3 separate regions of the Homo sapiens genome follow, and all the other regions are linked to region 3. Evidence: promoter capture Hi-C in 16 types of primary human blood cells and fetal thymus (Javierre and others, 2016). All regions are on one chromosome and are shown on one strand. Each heading gives the region's core, a stretch centred on a gene start or on the middle of the fragment in contact. The rest is flanking DNA. Distances are from core to core; before and after follow the strand shown. Region 1 has its middle 4.2 kb from the start of RTP4. Region 2 overlaps DNAJB11 (DnaJ heat shock protein family (Hsp40) member B11). Region 3 holds the start of IL1RAP (interleukin 1 receptor accessory protein).

What was found. The method cuts DNA at HindIII sites, captures the fragments that hold promoters and counts their contacts. A CHiCAGO score of 5 or more calls a contact.
Region 1: a fragment that was not itself captured here is called in contact with the fragment with the promoter of IL1RAP in region 3 in 2 of 17 cell types (naive CD8 T cells and activated CD4 T cells); the score reaches 7.4 in naive CD8 T cells.
Region 2: a fragment that was not itself captured here is called in contact with the fragment with the promoter of IL1RAP in region 3 in 1 of 17 cell types (non-activated CD4 T cells); the score reaches 7.3 in non-activated CD4 T cells.

Annotation. Positions count from the first base shown.
Region 1 is chr3:187,361,924-187,366,389 of GRCh38, reverse strand. No RefSeq gene overlaps it. Among named protein-coding and RNA genes, the nearest start is that of RTP4, 4.2 kb to the left of the region's middle. The HindIII fragment of the contact is 3,602 bases long and covers 99-3,700 here.
Region 2 is chr3:186,571,859-186,576,437 of GRCh38, reverse strand. It overlaps DNAJB11 (DnaJ heat shock protein family (Hsp40) member B11), which reads right to left. Exons shown (of 10, transcript NM_016306.6): 2 at 4,187-4,343; 3 at 501-598. Among named protein-coding and RNA genes, the nearest start is that of DNAJB11, 3.4 kb to the right of the region's middle. The HindIII fragment of the contact is 994 bases long and covers 1,424-2,417 here.
Region 3 is chr3:190,512,374-190,517,221 of GRCh38, reverse strand. It overlaps IL1RAP (interleukin 1 receptor accessory protein), which reads right to left and starts at 3,137. Exons shown (of 12, transcript NM_002182.4): 1 at 3,003-3,137. RefSeq lists enhancers at 1,947-2,446, 2,447-2,948, 3,701-3,790 and a silencer at 3,201-3,550. The HindIII fragment of the contact is 8,413 bases long and covers 1-4,848 here.

The DNA of each region.
Region 1 (4,466 bases), core at 650-3,149, 3.1 Mb after region 3:
GGATACAGAGAATTCCCATTTTGGGGTAAGGGATTGAGATGAGATGACCTTTAAAGACACTTGTAAGTCTAAAACGCGGAGATTCCAGAGAGTAAGCTTTGTCCTCCTGGGGCTTAAATTCAAATAGGGGAGATAGGACAAGCAGGATGCTTACTTAGGTCTTTAGAACACCCGCTACAGCTTCTGTGTCTGAGACAGGATCAGCCTCAGTCTTCCTGGGTTTTCTAGGCTTCCATGTGCCCTGTCAGCGACTCAGAGACACCCTCTCTCTTTCCTTCCCTTCCTGGATACCTGTGTCTATACACATGATATAGGAAGCTCTAAGAACTTGTAATTGGATCCACAGGATGTTAGAGTTGGGAAAACCCTTAGAAATCAACTTATCCCTTTTCCCTTTAATTTTTATACACGAGAAAACTGAGGCTGGGCACCGTGGCTCACGCCTGTGATCTCAGCACTTCGGGAGGCCAAGGAGGGTAGATCACTTGAGGTCAGGAGTTTGAGACCACCTGACCAACATGATGAAACCCCATCTCTACTTTAAAAATTACAAAGTCAGCCAGGCATGATGGCGCATGCCTGTAATCCCAGCTACTTGGGAGGCCAGGGCAGGGGAATTGCCTGAACCCAGGAGGCAGAGGTTGCAGTTAGCCGAGGTCATGCCATTGCGCTCCAGCCTGAGTGACAAGAGCATAACTCCGTCTCAAAAAAAAAAAAAAAAAAAAGAGAAAAGAAAACTGAGACCCAGAGGAATAAGGTCTCTTGCCTAAGGTCACACAGCAAATTAGTGCCAATACAGGGCCTGGCTTCAAGTTCTGCTCTCTTGCTCCACCCATGCATAAATCATTTCTCTACCCTTTCTCTTCACTTTCCGCTGGGTTTAGGATCCCAAGTCCACTCTACTTATTCTGTATCTTCAGAGTGTACCTTCAGAGAGTCCCCTTACCCCTGACACCTCAAATGCTCTGTTTTTCCCAAAAGGTAGCTTGATCCGGCGCATTGCATGCCTTCATGATTTCCTTCTGCCTCTTCTTCATGTGTGCCCTTTGATATACCCAATTGTTCAGGTCAGCCTGGTCCTTTGCATGGGGGTTCAGCAGGAAGATTAAGGGTAACATGTGTTGAAGAAACACACTCAAAGTGCTTTTTCTATTCTGTCACTCAGTAGCAATCAACACAAAAGACTTCTAACCTAATATGTGGGGAGTTTCCTCACCAAGCAAGCAGTCACTTAATTCTGCAGAGGACACCAACTAGATGACCTCTTATTCAATTCAGTTCTAATACTATCTACCCCAACCCAGCATGAGATCCCAAGGGTGGAGGGCCCAGTCCACAAGACTGTTCCCCTACAACTTCAGGCTGGGGCTTGGGGCCAGTTGAAAGCCCCATGTTATTTTACCTGTGCTTCTGACCAACTGGTTATACATTAGGATTCCCTCCTTAAGTTCGATTAATTTGCTGGAGTGGCTCATGGAACTCAGAAGAACACTTACTTATGTGTGCCAGTTTATTATAAAGGTATTAAAGGCGATACAGATGAAGAGATGCATACGGAAAGGTATGGGAAGGGGCATGGAAGCCCACCCTGGGCACACTATCCTCCAGGAGCCTCCTTGTGTTGGGCTATCCTGAAGCTGTCTGAACCCTGTCCATTTGGAGCTTTTATGGAGACTTCATTACGCAGGCATGATTGATTAAACTATGACCACTGGTGATGAACTTAGTCTTCAGCCTTAGAGATTAGGGGATGAGACTGAAAGTCCCAACACTCTAATTCTGCCTGGAACTTTCTGGCGACCAGCTCTCATCCTGAAGCGACCTAGGAGCTGCCGGCCACCTGTCATTTCATTAGCATACAAAAAGATCTCTTCAGAGATTCTAAGGATTTTAAGAGTTGTATGCCAGGAAATGGAGTCAATGATCAAATATATATTTTACAGTATCACTTTGAGATTTGAGGGCTGGATGAAGCCCACTACCTACCTTCCTCATTACCAAGAAGGAACGGAAAAAGAAAGAGAAGGAAAAGAAGAAAATACAGCCCCTTCTGCAACCCTACAGTGTACTTAAGCCACTTGGTGGGTGGTTTGTTTGTTTGTTTGTTTGTTTTCACCAAGGCATTGTAACTCCAGAATAATAGAATTGTGGGACTTGGTCATTGAAAGAGACCTTAGATATCTTGTGACAGCCCCTCCAATTTCACTGAGACCCAGTGAAGAAAATGACTTACCCAAGGAATGCGATGTGATAGTTGCAACCTTCGAGCTTTCAACTGTTGACGGTTTATCCCAGATTGGTTAAACAACTGCTAAGAGACAGCTGGAAAAAAAAAAAAACTGATGAATTCTGAAGAAGCGGGGCATAGCAAAATTTAGATTCTTAACCGTTCAGAGCTGAAATGAATCTACAAGGTCTTATAATCCTGGGATGGCAAACAATGTCTCTCCCCTTTTCTTGTGTAAGACAGACATTGCCAATCAACCTTCTCACCTTTCCCTCGGGGTCTGGGTGTTACTTAAGAATTTCCCTCATCACAGCTTTCTAGGCAGCCACTAGAAACTGATTGGTATATGAAACATTTTTGCCATTTCTGCAATAGTCCAACAAATTACAAAAACTGAAGTCAAGATAGATTTGGGTTAATCAAGGCTTAAGTTCAGTTTTTGGAACCTTAGGCATGTACCCATTTTTGGAATATCATATGACCCATCACAAATAGGGCTAGCACAAAACTTAACACATAGAAATATGTTCTTCTTGGGGACATTTTAGGCTTGGGAAGAAAGGAGGCTAGACAAGAGTGATAAGAATTGGTGGGTATCTGACTGAAAGAGATGAACGTCTATGGCACTTGGCTGGCAAGGCCAGCTCTTACCCCAGGACACTTGTCCAACCTCTGTCTTGGTGGCCAACTGCTCTGTAAAAGGTGAAACAAGAAGTAAAATGAAGTGTGACACCCAGAGCCAACTGCTACTCAGGCCTAGGGGCTAAGCCTGCTAAGAACACCATTCAGGAGGGCAAAGATTAGATTAAAGGTAACCTCTGAGAAATAGCAAGAAGAAATGTATAAAATCAAAAGAACTAAAATAAAAACTTACAAGTTTCCAAAGGGGCCGTTTGTTTCACAGCTTCTGTGAAAATCTGCTGGGCCTCAGGCCTCTTGAGGCCCATTGTTCAGATGTGGAATTTGCCTCAACAGACAATCATTTGGATATTTTTTAGTAGAAAGAATGTCTGTGAGCTTAATGAAAGCTAAGCCCTGGAGAGGTGACCAGTTGAGACCACTGCAAATAGAGACCCCGACTCCTATTCTTGACAGCCACCTCCTCTATTTCAGCACAAATGGTCTTAAAATCAGAGGCAGGACTTTTTCTGCTCTGTTCCAAGGCTGTGGTGAACATAGGTACCCTACATATGCAGAGTGTTTAATCACCCCCATATCAGGCCAATGTCAGGAAACAAGCAGGCCAAAGCTATACTCTGTAAATGAACTTTTCTCCTGTTCCTGATTCACTTTACCAATCTCTCACTCCTGCCCTCAGGGATCACTTTTCATATTAACTACTTGCAGCAAGTTCTTGCCTCAGGCTCTGCTTTTAAAAGAATTTCAACCAATACAGAGTGCAACTTATTTTCTTTTTCTTCTTCTTCTTCCATGTGTAAAAAAGTCCGTTTCCAGTCTGACTTGTAAGAAGCTTGGAAGTCATCACCCCCATCCTCATAGCAAGAGAAAAGCTGAACGAACTGAAAATCAACAACTCTTCTTTTTTTTATATATATATTTTATTTTATTATACTTTAAGTTCTAGGGTACATGTGCACAACGTGCAGGTTTGTTACTCTTAAGTACATCAGAGAATTGAAGTCACAGGGCAAACTGCTACCCTGAAAACTAGAGCAATAGATGGGCAGATACAGGGAGTCACAGCTTATCAGAGCCAAAGCCCAGGAATGGAAGTTCACAGCCGGAACTAGTACTGGTAGGGTAAGAACACTTTAAACTGAAATTGGCAATTGCTGGAAGCTCAGTGAGAACAAGCTTGAGAATTAAATAATTGGGGGGCAAGGGCTCGGTTTTAGGAGAACCCTCACACTTTCAGGAGTTTTACCTCCAGGAGCCCCACCAGGTTGTCACTATGAAGATAGAGAAAAATCTTCTTGTGCATTCATCATGTGAGGAGAAAAATAACCATTTTTGTTAACACTCAGACCTCTCTGTTCTCCCTAACAGTCTGCCCTCAAGGGCAACTGTTTCACCAGAGTAACACACTTGAGTTTACCAATGCCTAATCAACCTGAGAGAAGGGAAATGTGAGCGATAGGAACTACCTCCACTTGTTTCATGTGTGACTTCCTTTCTGCATGACAATGAGGACACAGCCCTCCATGCTTACAGGGTCAGGAAAAGAGAGTCTGGCATAAGCTCAAGGAGTCACGGCTGCCTGTGTGCTTTTTTCTAGGAG
Region 2 (4,579 bases), core at 671-3,170, 3.9 Mb after region 3:
AGTGTTTATTATTCCAACCACCCAGCACTCCCAGAAAGCAAGAGATAAAGGTCCTCTACCCTAATTCCTTCCCCTAATGCTGGTTATTATAATCACCCTCACTTGTTGATAGCACGAAAGAGAGGCAGCTCTGGGTATGGGAGCAGGAATTTTTCTATCTCTGCTAACAATAATTTTGCTCATTAAGTGGTTTGCAGATTGCAAGGTAGCAAGTAGGCAAGGATGAACTGATTTCCAACACATGTCCCCGTGAATTGTCTGCACTGATTTAACTGATATGGTTGGCTAGATGGAATGTCCTTTCAGTGCCATCAGTCTTTCCTGAAGCTTTGTGAAAATAGAAGACTATCTTCCCACAGGGAGGACAATAATTGATCTTTGGATCAGCTAAATTGTACTGTTCATCAAAAGTTTCTGAACTAGGGAATGAGAATAATTCTTTAATCGCTAAGTGACCCTCTCTCAGACACTAACACTTTGCAGATGGGTAAATTACTCACTGTGAAAAAATGTCTCCATGGGAGCTCTGATGACCATCTTTTAATCCTTCTTCACCATAAGTATCGTACTGTTTCCGTTTCTCACTATCTGACAGAACCTGGGGATAAAAGCCAGTGGAGGAAAAGATCATGAGTTGGTAATATCCAGTTAAGGCACAGTCATATTTATGTTTGTTTTTACTTTGACAGTGGGTCTAAAATTTTAATAGAATGCAGTTTCCATTATGTACTGTATTAAGGCATATTTACAAAGTTATTTTCTCTAAGACTAAATTCTTTGATGCACTGTTCATTCCACATTGCTCCATTCATGTTTTTAATTTAAAGTTCTCAAAACTCGTGTAGTCACTAAAAAATAATACCTGAGATTAGCAATGCAGCTGTGAAGGTCAGGGTGGTGACAGGAAAGAGTTAAGACGGATTCCTCAGGTTTACTTCCCATGCAGTTTGACTTTGGTGCTTATGCTGTTAACCACTATACTGCCTTCAGAACAACTTGGCCCCACAGGTCTATAACACCCCCTACCCAAAACACACACACACAGACACACACACACACACACACACACGCGCGCGCGCGCGCATGTATTAGGAGATTGTCAAGTCAAGGAAATCAAATGACAGGCCCTCCAGAGAGGCCTACACTGATATCTTTTCATCCTCCTTTTTTCATTTTTTGGTATATGCAGAAATCCATTTGTGGAAGAATTTTGCCTGCCATATATATATATGTTTAAGTTTGTAATGTCCTGAGTTTGAAATGCAGAAAGAGTAGTAAGTAAAAATACTCTATGAAGGTTATTCAAGGTCAATTTCATTGCTTGAAATAATTCTTGAAGTTTTAAGTTTCAGAGAACTACATACACAATCATGACTATATGCTTTCTCTCTGTATATTAAAGAATGTAACAACAAAATAAGCTTCCATCCTTTTCAAAATTTGCCTTCAACATGCAAAAAAAAACTTTCTCTTTTATTTAGAGCAATCTGATATATATGCACATATATACTTGTGAAAATTAAATGGCTTTAAAATCTTCCTTTGATATTTATAAACTCCTACTTAGACAAGAGTCTGAAGGAGAGAGTTATTTCAAAACCACACTCATGGTGGCCCAGAAAAAGAGAGGTTCAAAGTAGACGGGGCTTGTTGACTTAAAAGAAAGGCATATTCACACAGGACACATTTTTGGCTTAGGGCCCAAATGAGGTGTAAGGAGTCATGGCAAAAATGTATTAACATTTAAGATATCCTTGAAAGGATAAATAGAAATTGAGTATACAAGAGAGTGAACATTCTTAAAAGCAAAGGCAAATGGGTTATTCCAGAAGTGACCACAGTACTTGATTACAGCCACTATGAAAGAAAAAGGGAGAGGAAAGCATGTTTTCACAAGTATCTTTAGAAAATAGGTACTTTGGGGAAGCAGAAATGGGCACAATTAACTTGAAAAAAAAAAAAACCCTTATTATTAACTGGATCTCCAATATTTTCACTTTTAGTCTACTTCTCTGATCTGATCTTCACAAATAAATGAACCCTGCATTTGAGACTATAAAAAACACCATTTCAAAACCCCCAAAGACTAGTTTTAAGTCAGTTTCTTTTTAGACATCAGAGGCTTCTGTAATAACCCCCTAAAAACTACTCTTGAAGTCATTATCATTTACTTCCTCCTCACTTTTCTTCCATCAAGGAATGCAATTTTATTCTATGGTCTTGGAAACTATTTTAAAAGAAAAAAGGTTTTTAGTTGATTGGCCAACCAATACACAGATTCTCAAGTAATTAAAATGCCAGCAGTGATCCTAGCTCTGTAGAGAAAACAAATTTGTATTCACAAAAGATTCTTCATAACTGTACTCGGATTCTAATTTGTGAACACTAATTTACCTAAGACTAAAGGCAATCAAGCTTGAATGATAAAAAGAAAACAGAAATTTGAACTAGTGGCTAAAAGGATTGTTATAGTTAAATAAGCCACGATTTCATGACTGACCTTTGTATAGCCTGCCTAGGTCATTGATAAAGAACGTGAAGATTCTTTAGAGAGCATGGTAAATTCAGCTTCCCTAGAAAATGTTTTTGAGTATTAGGTTCCTAGCAAACAAGGGGACTATTCATGGAAAATACAGTGCAAAATATAGAATGCATATTATCAACAAGAAACAAAATATTACATATAATTTAGGATGGGCCATTAACCTTCCCAAGTTTATTGATGTGCCTCAGGTTAAGAATTTCTGTCCCTTGGCCAGGCACGGTGGCTCATGCCTGTAATCCCAGCACTTTGGGAAGCCGAGGCGGGTGGATCATGAGGTCAGGAGATCGAGACCATCCTGGGTAACACAGTGAAACCCTGTCTCTACTAAAAATACAAAAAATTAGCTGGGCATGGTGGTGCACAGCTGTAGTCCCAGCTACTCAGGAGGCTGAGGCAGGAGAATGGCGTAAAACCCAGGAGGCGGAGCTTGCAGTGAGCCGAGATCGTGCCACTCTACTCCAGCTTGGCAGACAGAGCGAGACTCTGTCTCAAAAAAAAATAAAAAAGAATTTCTGCCCCATAGGATCCCTGAAGGTGTTGAAAGATGAAAGGACCCCAACAGCTCTTGGGTTCACCTGGGTATAACTCACTGTTTCAATTCCATTGCTTCTTTAATCTAGAGATCTTGGGATTCCTTCCTTTCAAGGTTTGTGTCTTCCTAAAATATTTTTCAATTTGTTTTTAGCCTTCTCAATATACAAGAATTTAAACTTAAATTCAGGAGTTTTAGCTCTATGACTTTTAGTTCAATTAATTTTTTTCTGTGTCCATTTAGAAAATGAGAATAAAAATATGCCTAGCTCTAATATATTTCCTGGTGTCCTAGTGAAGATTAAATGAGATGATACACATGAGAGTGTTTTGATCCCCAGATTAGAGGTTGCAAAATCAAATTAAAACTGTGCTCTGTTTGATTTATGTAAAAAAGAAATTTAACTGAATTAGTTACCAACACTTTTACAAGCAGAACTCATATAAAAAATCTAGATTTTCAACTTTTCTTGAAAAATTAAATCATCCAGGAACATACTGTTTGCATTTGTATGACAAAAACTGGCTGGGGTTGAGTAACAGCTGCTCCCTTGAAATGGGGCCAGAAGGCTTCAGTTTGTCAAAGTCCTCAACAATCCTTATTGCTTCCCAATATGGAGGCAGAATATCTGCTGCCATGTTTTAACTTATACCTGCCCTGCATGTTATTTGTCTAGTTCATATGAACATGCAGGTTTGCAACTCTCATGAAGGCTTTCTTTTTATTTTTGGTTCTAGCTCCCAAACTGATTGAACGACAGACCAATCAGTTGATCTACTTATTAATCTATAATAAGTTCAAGACTAGCCTGGCCAACAGGGTGAAACCCTGTCTCTACTAAAAATACAAAAATTAGCCAGGTGTGGTGGCATGCACCTGTAATCCCAGCTACTTGGGAGGCTGAGGCGGGAGAACTGCTTGAACCCAGGAGGTGGACGTTGCAGTGAGCGGAGATTGCACCACTGCACTCCAGCCTAGGCAATAGAGACTCAGTCTCAAAATAAATAAATAAATAAATAAATGTGAGCTGAAAGGAGTGTTTCTCTGTATTGTATGTTTTTTCTAGAGCTACAGATTTTATTCGTACTTTATCACTTTTCCCAACTCACCTCATAAGCAGCACCCAGATCCTGGAATTTCTCCTGGGCTTGTGGATCATCAGGGTTCCGGTCGGGATGAAGCTGCAGGGCTAGTTTCCTATAGGCCTTTTTAATATCCTTTATAGAGGCACTTCGAGGCACCCCCAAGATCTTATAGAAATCTCGTCTGGGAAGTAGAGGGAGAGAATACTTCATTAAAGAGTTACATGTTACATTTTTCAAAGTAAAAGATTTATTTTTCCTCTACATTTAGGTTTGTATCTGAGCAAAGAGGTATAAAAATGAAGGTTTATGTGACACATACACACACAAAGAATGACTAAAGAGAGAACACCAGAATTTGTAATGAATCTTATATATTGAAGTAATCACAGTAAGAGGCTATATACTTCTTTTCGGATT
Region 3 (4,848 bases), core at 1,888-4,387:
GAATCAAAGGTGTATTACATCCAACACAGGAGAGTAGGAAGGTTGTCTTAGAGACCATTGCTTTAAATACCCTCTTATGACAGTTGGCTCCACTAAACTCTACAGAACTGTGCTTAAGGATTGTTCTCTTTGCAAGAAAATACCTGCTTTTCAACAAAAAGGATATCCTGAAATAACCAGACAAATAAGGTCAACTTTATAACTGAAGTAAATTGTTAAATATCTCATTGGCGAGGAAACAGAGTGTGATGGGAAATGCCCTAAACTAGACATGAAAAGGTGTGAACTGTATTCCCAGAGTTGAAACATACTAACACATGACCTCTAGCAACTTTTCATTTCTCTGAGTCTCATTCCAGTTATGTTCTAAATAAATTGAGACTAGCTAAGAAGAGATATCATTTAATGAGCACCTATTCACTACATGTACTTGACATTATTCTATTGAATTTATTCGTTATACAGATTTTTAAAGTAAGCATTTTTTTTTTCCATTTTAGAACTGGATAAAACAGAAACTTCAAATGATTAAATAAACTGCTCAATATCACCCAACTACTCAGGCATGAGAGCTGGAATTTGAAATCAAGTAGGTCTGACCACAAAACCTGGGCTCCTTCCTCTATTAATATTCTTGCCATGTCCTCCCAGGGCTATTGTGAGTAACAAGGAGTATCATATATACAGAATGCACTTTGGAAATTTTAAAGTTCTATACATATATATGGTTTTGGTAACAAGTAATAATCTGTATGAAGATATGGGTATAATTGACCAACCTTTCTTTGAAGAATCAGAACCAAAGGAATTAGCTTTTAATCTCCCTTCCATCCTCATGATCTGACCTTATTTTGAACATTTTCCTTTTCCCCCACAAGGCCCCTGTCTCTCAGGCACACATTCAGTCATATCCCAGCCAGCTCACCACAATGCATGTACATGGAACAAGCTGATAGAAGCAGGTGATCCCATCCTTTACTAATGCTTGGTGCGGGAGGTACTTAAGTGGGCACCACTGGGCTCTTATCTTCCATCAAGATGTATCACACTCTGTTCTCAAGCACTTACCAATACTGCATACAAATGCTATGGCCTGTGAAGGAGGCAGCCAACTACAAATGCTGGACACTCAATTTAAGGACGCATGGCAAAGCCAGTAGATAGTAGTAAATTATTGCATGAAGTTCATCAGAATAAAATCAATTGTCATGAGAAGGGTTAAGGGTGTGGGAGGGAATCCATTTAACTTTAAAATACCAATAATACAGGAAGACTAGTGTGGGCATGTGAATGTCTGTGTGTTCGTGTTTAAATAAGGCAAGTTTGTGTCCAGAAAGGTTTGCATTTAGCAGCATCTCTGTACAATCCAAAAGAAATATATGAGAATTTTGTTTGTTTTCTGATACTAGATGAAAAATGTAAGGTTGCTCGACTGACCTAAGAGAGCAAGGATAGAAGGCTTAGAATAATCTGTAACACAGCTGCAACTTCCAACTTTGTCTTCTTGTCTTTCTGCCTCTCACCCATTTCAAGACCCTCTTTGTCAATAAAGGATGTCTCAGATCAGGGCAGTTCACAGGCCTGAGGTTTGACCTAAAAACTAGTAGGAAATTCATATCACCGAGAAACATCAATTTTACATTTCGAGCTAAGCATCCATGATCCACATCACATATGGACAACATTCAGAAAATTCTTATTATAAAAGAGTTGCTCAAATTCAAAAGAAGAAAGACACCACATTTACAGATTTTTTTAAAATGCCTCTGTAAGATGGTATGAAATCACCTTTCTGAAAACCCACTGTCTGCAAGGTTACTATGTAACAATATTTACAATAGTTGCCATTGGTTTTGAACCAACCAGATGCCAGGCCAGGCACTGTGCTAAACATGCTACTTGAATGATCCCATTTCATCCTTCCAACTACCCAAAGGGCTCATTGTGACCATTATAAATCTCCATTTTTTGGCTGGAAAAAAAAAAAAGGAAGAAAGAAAGAAAAGAAAAACCCAGTATCGGAAAGGTGAGATAACTTGCCCAAGTTCACACTGCTAATACATGGAAGAGCTGGAGTCAAAACTCAAGTCCTCTTTCTCATCCAGTAGCTAAACCAGGGATCTGTACAGCAGAGCAGCAGAATGCTTCGCGTGGCGCCCTGGTTCACAATTTCACAACCAGAAGGTGGAGGGAAGACAGGCTGTGGGCTAGCTCTTAAAGGAAACAGCCGAAGTTTGCTTTTATGTTTGTGATTTTCTCTTTAACTCAGCTTCCTTGCTCCCTCTCAGTATTTAGAAGAGGGAAGGGGCTCTATGGTTCCATGAAGTCAGCTCTTCCCAAGTGAGGGGCACCCTGTGCCCCACAGGGCCACTAGCTCCGCTTCCTCCGGGGCTGGGAAGAAACAGTACCATAGGAGGTCACTGGCGCCCGGGCCTCGCTCCTCTCTCCCCGCGCTCCTCCAGAAGCTGGTCCGACACCCTCTGAAGGGGCATCTTTCTGAGAAAGCAGGTCAGGGGAAGAGGGAGTGAGGCTGCAAGCAGCATTTTCCCAGGCTGTCACAGCTCTGCGCTGAGAGCGACGTGATACCGAGTGGGCGTGCTGGGACACACCGCTTCCTTCTGTCCTCGGCGCTTCCAGCAGCGGTCTGGAGAAACCAAGGAGGAGATGGGGGCGGGGGGTGGTAGCGGGGAGGGGGCGGTGAGGAGGAAAACAAGGGTAGACCCCTCAAAGGGCTGAGGATGGGGGCGGCAACGAGCAGACGTCCCACAACCGCGTTACTTAAATCCCTGCAAAGCAAAGATGGGTCTCTGAACGTTTGGGTTCGAATCCGGGCTCCAGTCCTAACTAGCAGTATGACCTATCCCAGCCGCTGCCTCGTTCTGTGCCTCAGTTTCCTCTTCTGTAAAGTAGGAGGGTTTAACGATAGGATCTCTAAGAATCCGTCTACCCTGAGATTCTGCGGCTTGGTGACTTCTGAGCCCTCACGGCGGCGCGAGACTCACCTTTCTTGGGAAGCTGAGAGGGCGCAGCAAAAGCAGCCGGGATGGGTGCAGTGTCGCCGGGCACTGCTTCCTTCCGCGCCTCTGGCCAAAGCGGACCCCGGAGACCTGGATCCCGGCAGTCTTCCCCAGTGAGCCTCTTACTTTCCGCCGCACTTTCTTTTCCCCCTTTGGGGCTCCTCCCCCGGAGCGGCGCGATTGGCCACGGCCTCACGGCTCAGGCTCCACCCGCCGCCTTGGCTCGCGATCCACCGGCGCTCTGGGCTTCCAGGAGCTGCGGCCGCGGGGCGGCGTCCTGGACGGTCCCGCCCGCCGCCAGGAGGCGCGGCGCCGGGCCCGCCTGCGGACGGATGCAAGGCTGCGCTCGGCCCCTTCGGCTCCCTGCCACCGCCTGTGCGGGCTTGAGCGCGCGGGGAAAGGAGAGGGTTAGTCCTGCAGCGCAGCTCGGCACGCTGCCAGGCGCTGTGGGAAGCTACGCCCCTCACTACACACCGAGGCGCACACATGCGCTCATTGCAAGATCGTGCTCTCGCAGTTGAGATCGGTGCCACCCTGCCCTTTCTTCCTGTCTCGACGTATTTAGCAATCATGCTGCAAGGCCTTGAATCAATTCAGACTGCACGATTTTCGCAACCACCCTGTGCCGGCACAGAGCGCGGCAGGATGTAGATGCGATCTCCGCAGTCCTGAGCTCTTGCTGTCTTGAACTGACATTCATATGAGCAAGCAACAGGACATGACAGCAAGACTAAATCTGTATTGTCCACTGGTAATATACCCATTGCCTAGCACAGTGCCTGGCACAAAGTAGGCACTCAATACATGTATGGGGAACGAATAAAAGAACTAATAGGTTACATAGAAGGAAATAATCTCAAAACAAATATTTGCCTTCATTCATTTCCATTTCCCCAAGTTTTTGCAAGAGCCTTCCTTCAGCTGCCCTCTGCCACTGTAGATGGTAGTCTGTAATATATCCCGGGAAGCGTTATAAAGGCTTTCATTAAGTCATCTCTCTTGTTCAGGCACCTTCTGCTGTGTTCCTACTGCTAGTGCCTCATGATTTTTCCTGACTGGCAAGGCCCTTCATGACCTGTCCCCATTTCTGAAACCCCCTAACCAAAGCCACCTACCAGACTGACGAGTCTTCGCACATCTTCTTGCTCATCACATCTTCTTTTCTCCTCCTCCTACCTAACTGAATCCTACTAATTTATTTTCAAGAATCAAGATTCAGAGAAAGCATTTAAGGAAAAGGAGAAAAAAGATGTGAAATAAGAAAAGGGCCCAGGTGAGTGGGAAGGAAATGAAACCAGCAGGTGCCCGTGCTGCTAAAGGTGCACAGCAGTACGAAACTCAGAGGCTGCCCCTGCCCTGGCGGAGCTTCAGTTCCTAAGGTGAAATATCAGTGTAATTGGAGCCATAGAAATGTTCATGATACTTTACTTCTTGACATCACTTATGAAAATTAATTGCTCAAAATTTTTATTTATCTCAGGATACCTGGGACCCAGCACCTGCTCACAACATTGTCACTGAACCAAAGAGAAAATAATCCAAAAGAATTTAAAATGTTACCTGTATGAAGCAACAATAAAACATTTTCTGATTTATTATTCATTCCTTAAATATATTCTGGGCACAGACTTTTATATATATATAGTACACTGAAGCATTTACACAGTGCTTACAAAATAAAAAGGTGCAATCATAAGGACTTTGTGTATATTAATTCAGGTAACCCTCAATACAACCTGGAGGGTGCTATTATTATCTCCAGTTCATAAAGGAGATAAAGGGAATTTAAATAACTTGACCAAGGCTACAGGCCTACAAGTGGAGAATACAA